Linked DNA regions of Homo sapiens: all the other regions are linked to region 3. Evidence: promoter capture Hi-C in human tissues and cell types (Jung and others, 2019). All regions are on one chromosome and are shown on one strand. Each heading gives the region's core, a stretch centred on a gene start or on the middle of the fragment in contact. The rest is flanking DNA. Distances are from core to core; before and after follow the strand shown. Region 1 overlaps USP32 (ubiquitin specific peptidase 32). Region 2 overlaps USP32 (ubiquitin specific peptidase 32). Region 3 holds the start of APPBP2 (amyloid beta precursor protein binding protein 2).

Region 1 (3,271 bases), core at 87-2,586, 340 kb after region 3:
ACTATTATGCCATTTCTGTTTTAGACAATTTAAAAACAACCAGAAAAACCTTCATTGGCATCCTCTATGGCACCTAATATATTGACATGTTTGCTTGAGCTTTTTCATTTTCCAACTTCTGGAGTTCATTGTATTGGGGCATTGTCTTTGTCCATTTTGTGTTGCTATAACAGAGTACGTGAGGCTGGTAACTTGTAAAGAAAAGAGGTTTATTTAGCTTACTGTTCGGCAGCCTGGGAAGTTCAAGGACATGGTCCTGGCTTCTGGCAAAGGCTTCTGTGCTGCATCATAACATGGCAGAGAAGATCAAAGGAGAACAGACACAGGCAAGAGGGAGGACCAAACAGGAGGAAGATCCTCGCTTTCTAACAGCCCGCTCTCTTGGAAACTAAGTTCTCAGAAGGAGAACTCAACTACTGCAAGAATGGCACCAACCATTTACAAGAGTTTCACCCCTATGACCCAAACACCTCCTGCTAGGCCCCACCTCCTAACAACGCCACATTGGGAATCAGATTTCAACATGCATTTTGATGGAGACAAATAAACCATGTCCAAACTATAGCAGGCATTAAATTTCAAAAATATTAATAAGTGAACCTTGAAACAAAACTGTGTCTGGCCATGACATATCAATAAGCATCTCTCTGTTAAATATTATTGAAGTTGCAGCATTTGGTAACCACAGTTACTTAGTTCAAATGTGTCCCAGGGCTATAGCTGCTGCCTTTAATAGGCAGAGTGATCAGAAAAGTTACAGAAAGGATTGAAATGTTTCCATTTTGGGTACCTAAGAGCACATCTCAGTGGCCACTCTTTGCACTTCACATTCTTCTATTGTCACTGTCTGGCCAGAGCAATTTTTAAATTTTGAAAATGTTGCTTCAGAAATAATTTTAACTCCATACCTAAAAATGTTTGCCTCAGGCAGTTTTTAATCAACCAAATATTATTTGAATGGTAAAGACATTAAGAATCTGATAGAGAGGTAAAAACAACAGAGTCAAAGGAGTTCCTTAAGTCACATGAGGAATTGTAGTGGTTTTTGCATTTTTATGGCTCTTGATAGTTGGAAATTTCCTTTACTATTTTTTAAAGCATTCCCTTTGGATAAGTTAGTAACGGTAACTGACTTTTCTGTCTTGTTGTGCTATGGAGGACTGGGGAAACTACCAATTCTAGACCTAGTTTCTTATTTAGATCCCAAAATATGCCGCACACACCAAGGCTCCTGGGAGCCCTTTCTAGCCAGAAATAAGTATAATTTGTGGATACTTGTCAAATGAAAGATCACTAGGCTAAAGCTAAAGAAAGCTGAAGAGAAACTAATGTTCTAGATCATGCTCACTAGCAAGGAGGGAAAATTTTACTAGTTGATAGATTCATAAATCTTTGTCAGCACAAAATCTGACAAGACATTACTGTCAATGATGACAAATTATTTGGCTCTATAAATCTCTTCCCCTTTTTAACAAATCCAGTGTGCAATCGGAAAAGCTCTTTAGGACATCCTGCTTATAGGAAACGGCCTACGTGACCTGTTAAATCTCACCCTACTTCCACTTTCAGTGATGCACTTAGGATACCATGGAAGTGAAGGGCTATTGATGCCTTGCTAGGGAGTGGGCCCATATGACTAATCTGGGCTCCCCTACATGTAGGGTTTCTGAATGTGCTTAGAAAGTCATGTAGACAAAAGAGATACCGTGGTTTAAATTGGGATTATTGCCCATATACTTTATATTTTTTATTCCAGTGATTTCCCTTTTAGGAATTTATCTGAGGGGAGAATACTCTGTAATTACTCCATAATTTGCAGGCAAATATCATCATAGCATTTTTTAGAATAGCAAAAAGTTATTAACAACTTATATTTGTCTCACATTAGAGGAATGGTTAAATAAAGCATGGTGTATTCATTGGATAAAATATAATGCGGTTGTTGAAAATGATTACCAGGAGTTTTTGCTAACATTTATGGGAACAAGCTTATGATATGTGAACATTTTTTAAAAAACAAGACATAAAGTTGCATATACTGGAAATAATACCTTCAATATTGAAAAAAATACTATTTAGGAAAGAGGACAGAAGAAAATCTGCCAATATTTTGACAGTGGTTGCCTTTGTATTAAGAATATAATTAAGAATATAAAAGGATTCCCTGCCTTTTAACATTTTTCTCTGCTTTCCAACATGAATATTATACCTAGTAATCAGAAAAAAAACAGAGGCAATCACTCTTATCCTTTACATTTCTCTCCTGTTGGGACCTCAGATTCCTCAGTAGAAAATTAAACTGGATGCCAGCCTGGGCAATATGATGTCACCCTGTCTTTACAAAAAATGCACAGATTAGCCAGGTGTGGTGGTGTGCACCTGTAGTCCCAGCTACTTGGGAGGCTGAGGTTGGAGGGCTGCTTGAACCCAAGAGATCAAGGCTGCAGTGAGCTGTGATCTCGCCAGTGCACTCCAGCCTGGGTAACAGAGCAAGAACCTGTCTCAAAAAAACAAAAAAAGAAAGAAAAAAAGAAAATTAAGCTAGACAAATTCTTAGGCCACTCTCTTTTTTTCAATAGTCTTCTATGAAAACTATTACTTCATTTCCTGTGTTTTGTGTTAAAGATGAGCTTTAAAGTAACTTTGAAAAAGAAGAGGGTGCCTATAAGTAATTTATAGATTATTTAAACAATAGTAGAGGATCTAAGCGTAGATCCCAAGAGGTAAAGGGAATCTTTATCACTTTGGGAAATTTACTGATAAATAGAAATTATTGTCAGTACAGTCCACAAATATGTTTTTTATCAGCCTTCTTTCCTGTCTTCATCTAGCACTGTAGCCTGTGTTCCACAGAAAATATAGTCAATAAAAATCAACATTCTTTACTAGCTTACTCTAATTTGTGGTTGGCCATAAAGTATTCCTGGTAGAGATAATAGAGATAATATTTAACTGGCTATGAGAAAGGAAACACTACCGTATATGATACACCCCTTTTTCTACTCATTCCAACAACGATGATGCAGCACGTTTCCTTTTGAAGCACATCAGTTTTTTCCTTGAGTGACCAGTTCAAAAGATGATGACAGTTAATATCTTGTTACTACAGAATTTGTACTCAAAAAAGAAGTCTATAACCCAAGTCCAAGCCAGATTTCCTTTTCTAAAAAAAGAATTTTCCTCTAAGTTCCCCTTTTTAAATGAGCTCTTTAGCCTGGATAGTTATGCAGTGCTAGAACCTTAATTGCACGATCAAATCCAGCCTTGCTAG
Region 2 (3,624 bases), core at 998-3,497, 300 kb after region 3:
TATATGAGGATTTAAATTTCTTCTTTCATGCCAGGCATGGTGGCTCACGCCTATTATCCCAGCACTTTGGGATGCCAAAGCAGGCAGATCACTTGAGGCTGGGAGTTCAGCACCAACCTGCCCAACCTGGAGAAAACCCGTCTCTACTAAAAATACAAAAATTAGCCGGGTATGGTGGTGTATGCCTGTAATCCCAGCTACTCAGGAGGCTGAGACACAAGAATAGCTCGAACCTAGGAGGCAGAGGTTGTAGAGAGCCAAGATGATGCCACTGCACTCCAGCCTGGGCAACAGAATGAGACTGTATTTAAAAAAAAAAAAAAAAAAATCAAATTTCTCTTTCCAGTCCATGTGGCCACTTTGACAAACGCCTTGTTTAAAAAAAAAAAAAAAAAAAATTTGGGCCAGGTGCAATGGCTCACACCTGCAATCCCAGCTCTTTGGGAGGCTGAGGCAGGCAGATCACTTGAGACCAGGAGTTCCAGACCAGCCTGGCCAACATGGTGAAACCCCGACTCTACTAAAAATATAAAAATTAGCCTGGCGTGGTGGCGTGTGCCTGCAGTTCCAGCTACTTGGGAGGCTGAGGCAGGAGAATCGCTTAAACCCAAGAAGCAGAGGTTGCAGTGAGCCGAGATCATGCCACTGCACACCATCCTGGATGACAGAGTGAGACTCCATCTCAAAAAAAAAAAAAAAAAAAAAAGAAAAAGAAAATTAGTGTTGACATGTCAGATAATTTGATCTTAGAGCTTCATCTGCCTACCTAAGAGAGTACTTAGCTTTAATTTTTTCTCTTCATAAAATGACATATTTACTTACGAATATTACTAATTGTGAGGGTAGTATGTTTCAAATACTGGCAAGACTAAATGGAAAGATCAGAGACCAAGGGATCAGGAAAAATGAGCCATCCTTTCTTAGAAGTGGCTAACCCCAGATTTGCTGATTCACTGGAGCATGAATAATTTGATTGTGTCTCTGCTCATGGAATCTTACCAGTCTTTCCCCGCTTTAATGTGTCAAGCTTTATTCTTCTATGTGTAATCTCCTAAAAAAATGTAAATGGGGAAGAATGGTGAAATCTTTTCTATCATTATTACATTACATAATGTGTATCTTCCTTTTTGAGAACTATGAAGGAGCAGCTATTACTATTCACATGCAGATTTTCCTATTTAGTTATCACGTAACTTTAGAGCTAGAAGATACTTTAAATCACCTTTCGTGCCTCTCTCCCATGGGCTTTGGGGGGTCCCTGTTCTCCTTAGCCAAGGCTGGAGGCCAAGAGCAGCCCTCGAGGATCGTCGTCAGGACTGCCACGAGTGGGGCAGCCTTGTTTTCCTGCCTCAGACATGTGTAGTTGAGTGGGAAATAAAAGGAATGAAACACCTCTCTTCTCTGAATTTACAAATGAAGCCTCTGAGGTCCTTAGGTTTTATAATTGCCCAAAGCTGTATCAGACAATTATTTTATTACTTTATCTAGCACTCTAGAGCTCAGTGTCCTGAGTCCTGCCTTAGTACCTAATCTGTTGCTCCATGCTGCCCTCTATTTTTCCAAAGCTAGCATTTCAGTCACTAGTGAAATATGAAATTGACATAACTGTTAATTGATTCTTGTAACATACCTATGTACAGGGCATAAAAAGTAGTAGTATCATCAATAGAGAAAAAGGTGAATCTTGACCCATATTTTAGAACACATAAACTATTTATACAACTCACAGGGAATCCTAAAATCTCAAAATAAAATTCTCTTATATTAAAATAAGTACCTAGTCCTTTTGTGAATTGTTGACTCAGAAAATGAGGACATTTCTCTCTACAGGTGAAACTTTACCTATTTAGAAATCTATCTTCTGAAAACCAGGGTTCTAGGATAATTTTGAATAGTTCCAGACCCCTGAAGTCAATAAAAACAAAACATGATCCTTTGATGTTTTAGAAAAACAAAAATTTCCGCAAGCAGCCAGAAATGAACAGTCAAAAAAAGCTAGTGACTCTAAGATTCTGCAATATATAACTGTGATTGGTTTGTTCATCTTATAGAAGGAAAGTGGTAATAAGATTAATCGGATGAAAAGGTAGCTATTTCACTGAAAGCCAAGAAGGGTAGAAGGAACAAGAAAAATAAGCGTGTAGGAAGGGGAAGAAGGAACCTGAGTTGTGCTGACAGTTTCAGGCAGTGGAGAACAGTGAGAGCATCAGGTTCCTGTAATAGAAAAGAAAGCCGAAGACAATGAGAAGACAGACCAGTCTAGTTTGTTTGGAGCATTGGAAGAGAAGCAAAGAAAAGCCCATATTCTCCAAGTCTAAAGGTTATTACTCACTGTACCATGTTAAAAGCATGTGGTAGAACCGCAGTTGCTAGAGGCAAATGTTGCAATCTCTGAGAAGTTATTAGAATCATCCTGTTCACAAATTATTATAAAATTTAGCCTAGCAAATTTAATGCCTGGTAATATTTTTATTATCCTGTTTTCTTGCCAGTGATATATATAGATTTAACCTATGGACTGAGCTCTTCAGAATGAGAAGCATTATTACAGGAATGGTTTCATTTACATTTTCTTTAGAAACATAGGCACCATGTAAGACTTTCAAACATGTTAAAACATTTAAGATACAATTCCAAATATTACTCCTTGAAATTCTCTTACATGCCCATCTTAGAGGAAAACTTGAAGAAAATTGTTTGCTCAAATAGACCCAATCTTCCTCAAAATATATTACTACAAATTTTTTAGAAAGTAATTTGTGGTCGGGCGCAGTGACTCACGCCTGTAACCCCAGCACTTTGGGAGGCCAAGGCAGGTGGATCACCTGAGGTCAGGGGTTCAAGACCAGCCTGGCCAACGTGGCGAAACCCTGTCTCCACCAGAAATACAAAAATTAGCCAGGCGCAGTGGTGCGTGCCTGTAATCCCAGCTACTCCGGAGGCTGAGGCAGGAGAATTGCTTGAACCCAGGAGGCAGAGGTTGCAGTGACCCAACATTGCACCACTGCACTCCAGCCTGGGCAACAAAGCGAGACTCTGTCTCAAAAAAAGAAGGAAAAAAAAAGTAATTTGTAATGCATCAACTTTATATAAATGGAATATAGAAGTGAGTATAAATTTATAAACGGATTACCTTGCCAAAAATGTGATGGTTATTGAAACATCATTTAAGATCACTTATAGCAAAACTAAAGTGATTTTTCTGGAGGAAAACAAAGTGACTTGGAAGACTTTAATTTTTCTCAAAGGTGGCGCTGTTACTCTTTCAAAATGGTTTTGCTGTCTGTCTTGCTCCATCTTTATGGGCAGGAAGCAAATGACCTGAAAACTAAATAAATCTAAATCTTCTTCTAAAACACAAGTTCCAGAGCAGGTAGCAGATTTAATAACAAGTCAATTTCTAAGCTCTTAACATCTGGAGCACATTATAAAAACAAATGCATGAGACTATAATCCTCACTAGGGCAATAGTTATTAATTCTGGCTGCATATGTAGTGAGATCACATAGAGAACTTTAAAAATGAAAAAATGCCTTTGGCCGGGTGACTCATGCCTGTAATCCTAGTACTTTGGGAGGCCAAGGCAGGAGGATTGTTTGGATCCTCCAGGAGTTTGAGACCAGT
Region 3 (3,357 bases), core at 375-2,874:
TAGTATAAATATGTCCCCTGCAATATTTGCAGAGATAATAATTATTCTTTTATGTGGGGCAGGGATCCTGATCTTCAAAAGCGCCAGTGTCTAAGAAGTGATGAAGGATTTGCTGAATGAACTGATACACTTGAGTGGCTCCGAAGGCATGAGCAAAACTATTGCACAGAACATACTTACATTTCAAAACCATTTGTTGTTTATCTGACATTAAGATGTGACTGGGCACTTGTAATTTTTTTTTTCTTTTTTTTGAGACGGAGTCTCGCTCTGTTGCCCAGGCTGGAGTGCAGTGGCGCGATCCTGGCTCACTGCAAGCTCCGCCTCCCGGGTTCACGCCATTCTCCTGCCTCAGCCTCCCGAGTAGCTGGGACTACAGGCGCCCGCCACCACGGGCTAATTTTTTGTATTTTTAGTAAAGACGGGGTTTCACCGTGTTAGCCAGGATGGTCTCGATCTCCTGACCTCGTGATCCACCCGCCTCGGCCTCCCAAGTGCTGAGATTACAGGTGTGAGCCACCGCGCCCAGCCTTGTAGTTTTTTACTTGCTAAACTGGCAATCTGATCTTGAGGCCATCCACAGCTTTCCTAGGTTCACAGTATAGAGTAAGAATTTATATAGACTGAAGAAGATTAAGAGTGTTTATTTTTTGTGGAATTATTTAACCACTTAACACTGAAGTACCAGGTGAAGGGTAAATTGAAATAACTCTTTCCACTTCTTTTAGCTCTAAATATCAATCAGGACATTATTATTATGGCTGTTTTCTGGACTTACATCGTTATAGAGTGACTATGAGTTTGATAGTGTCACCAACAATTATGGCCAATAATTTCCATGGTAAATTCCTAGAACAGAAAGATGTTGCATCAAATTCTTGAAATCGCAGACTTAGGAAATTAAGTTACATAAACAGCAGATGTTCAGGCTGAGGAAGGAAAGAAGCTGAAACAAGTACTCCCAATTATTCAACAATCCCTTGAAGCCGCCACTGTAACTCTGGGAATTGAAATACCATTAAGTCCTATCACGGCCACCACTTAGCCTTTTTTCTCTTACTATTATTTGTAATTCCATAATCAAGCTAGTTTTCCTACGAAGTTCTGGGGCAGGAGTTTTCTTTTTTCGGAAATTTCATTTGGATAAAGAAACATGGTCAAAAAGTTACAACGGTGCAAATGGTTATACAAAGAAAAACAAGTCTCTCTTCTATCGTTACCCCTAGTTCCTGGACCGCGGGTTCTTAACTTGGGTTAGGAACTGCAGTCTAAGGGTTTCTAGAGTAATGTGAATTTTCTCAATGCATAATTTTCAATGTACAGATAATTTTGCTCGTTTGTGGGGAGAGGATCCAAACTTTTACCTGAGCCTCAAAAGGGTCCGTGATGCAGAGAACCTGCTGAAGTAACCGATGGCCCCGAGTGACTCGGAACAGGGGGCGCAGATATCCTGTAATAATTTGTCCCCGTGTGAAAAGTCTACCCCTATCCACTCCACTCCACTCCACTCCGGGGCCGCTTGGAAGGGACGCTCTCCGTGGGAGGCATCCAGCTCTTCCTAAGTTTTCCGCCTGCCGCATTCCTCCCCTCCGGCGCGCCGGCGTGCGCTTACGTCATGACGCCGCACACGCAGCCCCGCCCCTGCAGAGATCAGCGCTGGGACGGAACCCGGGTTCCTCTCGAACCGGGATTGTGACGCTTTTGGCCTGGCTGGCCGCTGTTTTCTGTCCCACTTTTTACTCGGGCCTGCGTCCGCTGCCGCCGTCCCTCAGTTTGCCCCCGGAGGAGGCAGGGCGGCCGTGCCTTCTGCCGTGCGCCCGCGTGGCTGCCACCGCCCCTCCGAATCCTCCGGGGCCGCAGAGGGGTTCGCTACGGAGGGAGGTGGGGGCCTTCGGGAGGAGGAGGCGGAGGAGGCGGAGGAGGAGGGAAGGAAGATGGCGGCCGTGGAACTAGAGTGGATCCCAGAGACTCTCTATAACACCGCCATCTCCGCTGTCGTGGACAACTACATCCGCTCCCGCCGAGACATCCGCTCCTTGCCCGAGAACATCCAGTTTGATGTTTACTACAAGGTATGCGCCGTGGGCCTCCTCTCTGCTCTCCTCCAGCAACCCCGGGGGCCGCACCCCCTTCCACGTCTGCGAACCCCCGCAGTTAACCCCTCACCCCTTCCGGCAGACTTGCCTCCCGAAACGTCTGGTGCGGTGTCTGCATTGCCAGTGGAGAAGCACCCCATCTCCCTATGCCCTGTCTCTTAAGCTTTGGGGCCTTGAAGTAATCTTGGGGAGTCTTGCTCCCTGTTGGTGTTCCCTTCTACACAGTGGCCCTCTTGGGTAGGCCTTTTGCGTGGACTTACTCTATCGCGCCCCTGTCCCACCTAGTCCTTTCCTTCTAGCCCGTATCTTCAGGATATTTTCCATCCTCTCCTTCCAATTAAGTGTCAGCATCAGCTGGACTTTTTTCCGTGCTCCTCCCCCCACCCATTCCTACTTTCTCATCTCGCCGCCTTCCTTCCCCGAGTGTTTTGGTGTTTTTGCTTCGTGTTCCTTCGTTTCTCCTTTCTTTTCCCAATTGGGAAGGAGTTAGGGATTATTGGAAATAATCTGTGTGTTTTATTTGCATATTCTTTAAAGCTTTGATTTTTTTGTGGGAGAGGAGGGGCTCTATACTTGAATTAGGGATTTTGTGAAAATGGGAGTGCTGATCAACTGTTTGAAGAGGACAGGGAGAGATCTTTACTGAAAGAAAAAAACACTTTAGATTATGTTCCTGTGTTTGAAAGTTGCAATCTTGCAGCATTCTTAAATCACTCCCCCTCAAAAATCTGAACAGCAAGTCTCCCAAGCCACTCTCCAAGGAGTTTCAAGGGTAAGTGTCCTTAGATGTGGACTATTTTTGCAGTGTTTTCAGAGTGTGGAGAACTTTATGGACTCAGAGCCTGCCCTTTTCTCTCCCCCACATTTGAATGTGAACACTGGATTTATTATTCAGTCTTCCTTGTCTTGAATCCGCGTCGATAACTCCTAGTGTCCAGTAGCCACCCATGCAAAATGTGACTAAAAGTAGAATGTAATTTATTTTTTAGACCTTAAATACTTCCTCTTGATCTGTAAGTTGGCTGGAACAGTGTAAACTGATATTTTAACAGATGTTTATGTTCTTACGTATGTACAGTGTTTTGTGGCAGTTGTTTTATTGGGAAGATTGCCTGCTTTCTCCACCCCTAGATTTTTTTTTTTTTTTTTTTTTTTTTTTCAGAATTAGCAGTTGATGGGCTGCGTTCTACTAAATCCAGCTGCTTTGCACCAATTCTAACAATTAAAGTGGGGTTTCCCCCCTAAATATTTGGAGAAGATT

The links. Contacts are between HindIII fragments. The study calls those that stand out against the background at their distance.
Region 1: a contact is called between a fragment that was not itself captured here and the fragment with the promoter of APPBP2 in region 3, in 3 of the 25 tissues and cell types used here (IMR-90 fibroblasts, bladder and lymphoblastoid cells).
Region 2: a fragment that was not itself captured here is called in contact with the fragment with the promoter of APPBP2 in region 3 in 1 of the 25 tissues and cell types used here (hippocampus).

What each region holds. Positions count from the first base shown.
Region 1 is chr17:60,187,232-60,190,502 of GRCh38, reverse strand. The region is part of intron 29 of USP32 (ubiquitin specific peptidase 32); the gene reads left to right. Among named protein-coding and RNA genes, the nearest start is that of CA4, 39 kb to the right of the region's middle. The HindIII fragment of the contact is 9,453 bases long and covers 1-3,271 here.
Region 2 is chr17:60,229,251-60,232,874 of GRCh38, reverse strand. The region is part of intron 12 of USP32 (ubiquitin specific peptidase 32); the gene reads left to right. It also overlaps SCARNA20. Among named protein-coding and RNA genes, the nearest start is that of CA4, 81 kb to the right of the region's middle. The HindIII fragment of the contact is 6,309 bases long and covers 1-3,624 here.
Region 3 is chr17:60,524,509-60,527,865 of GRCh38, reverse strand. APPBP2 (amyloid beta precursor protein binding protein 2) reads left to right here and starts at 1,624. Exons shown (of 13, transcript NM_006380.5): 1 at 1,624-2,072. The coding sequence starts at 1,935. RefSeq lists a silencer at 1,795-1,934 and enhancers at 2,015-2,284, 2,005-2,713. The HindIII fragment of the contact is 9,879 bases long and covers 1-2,446 here.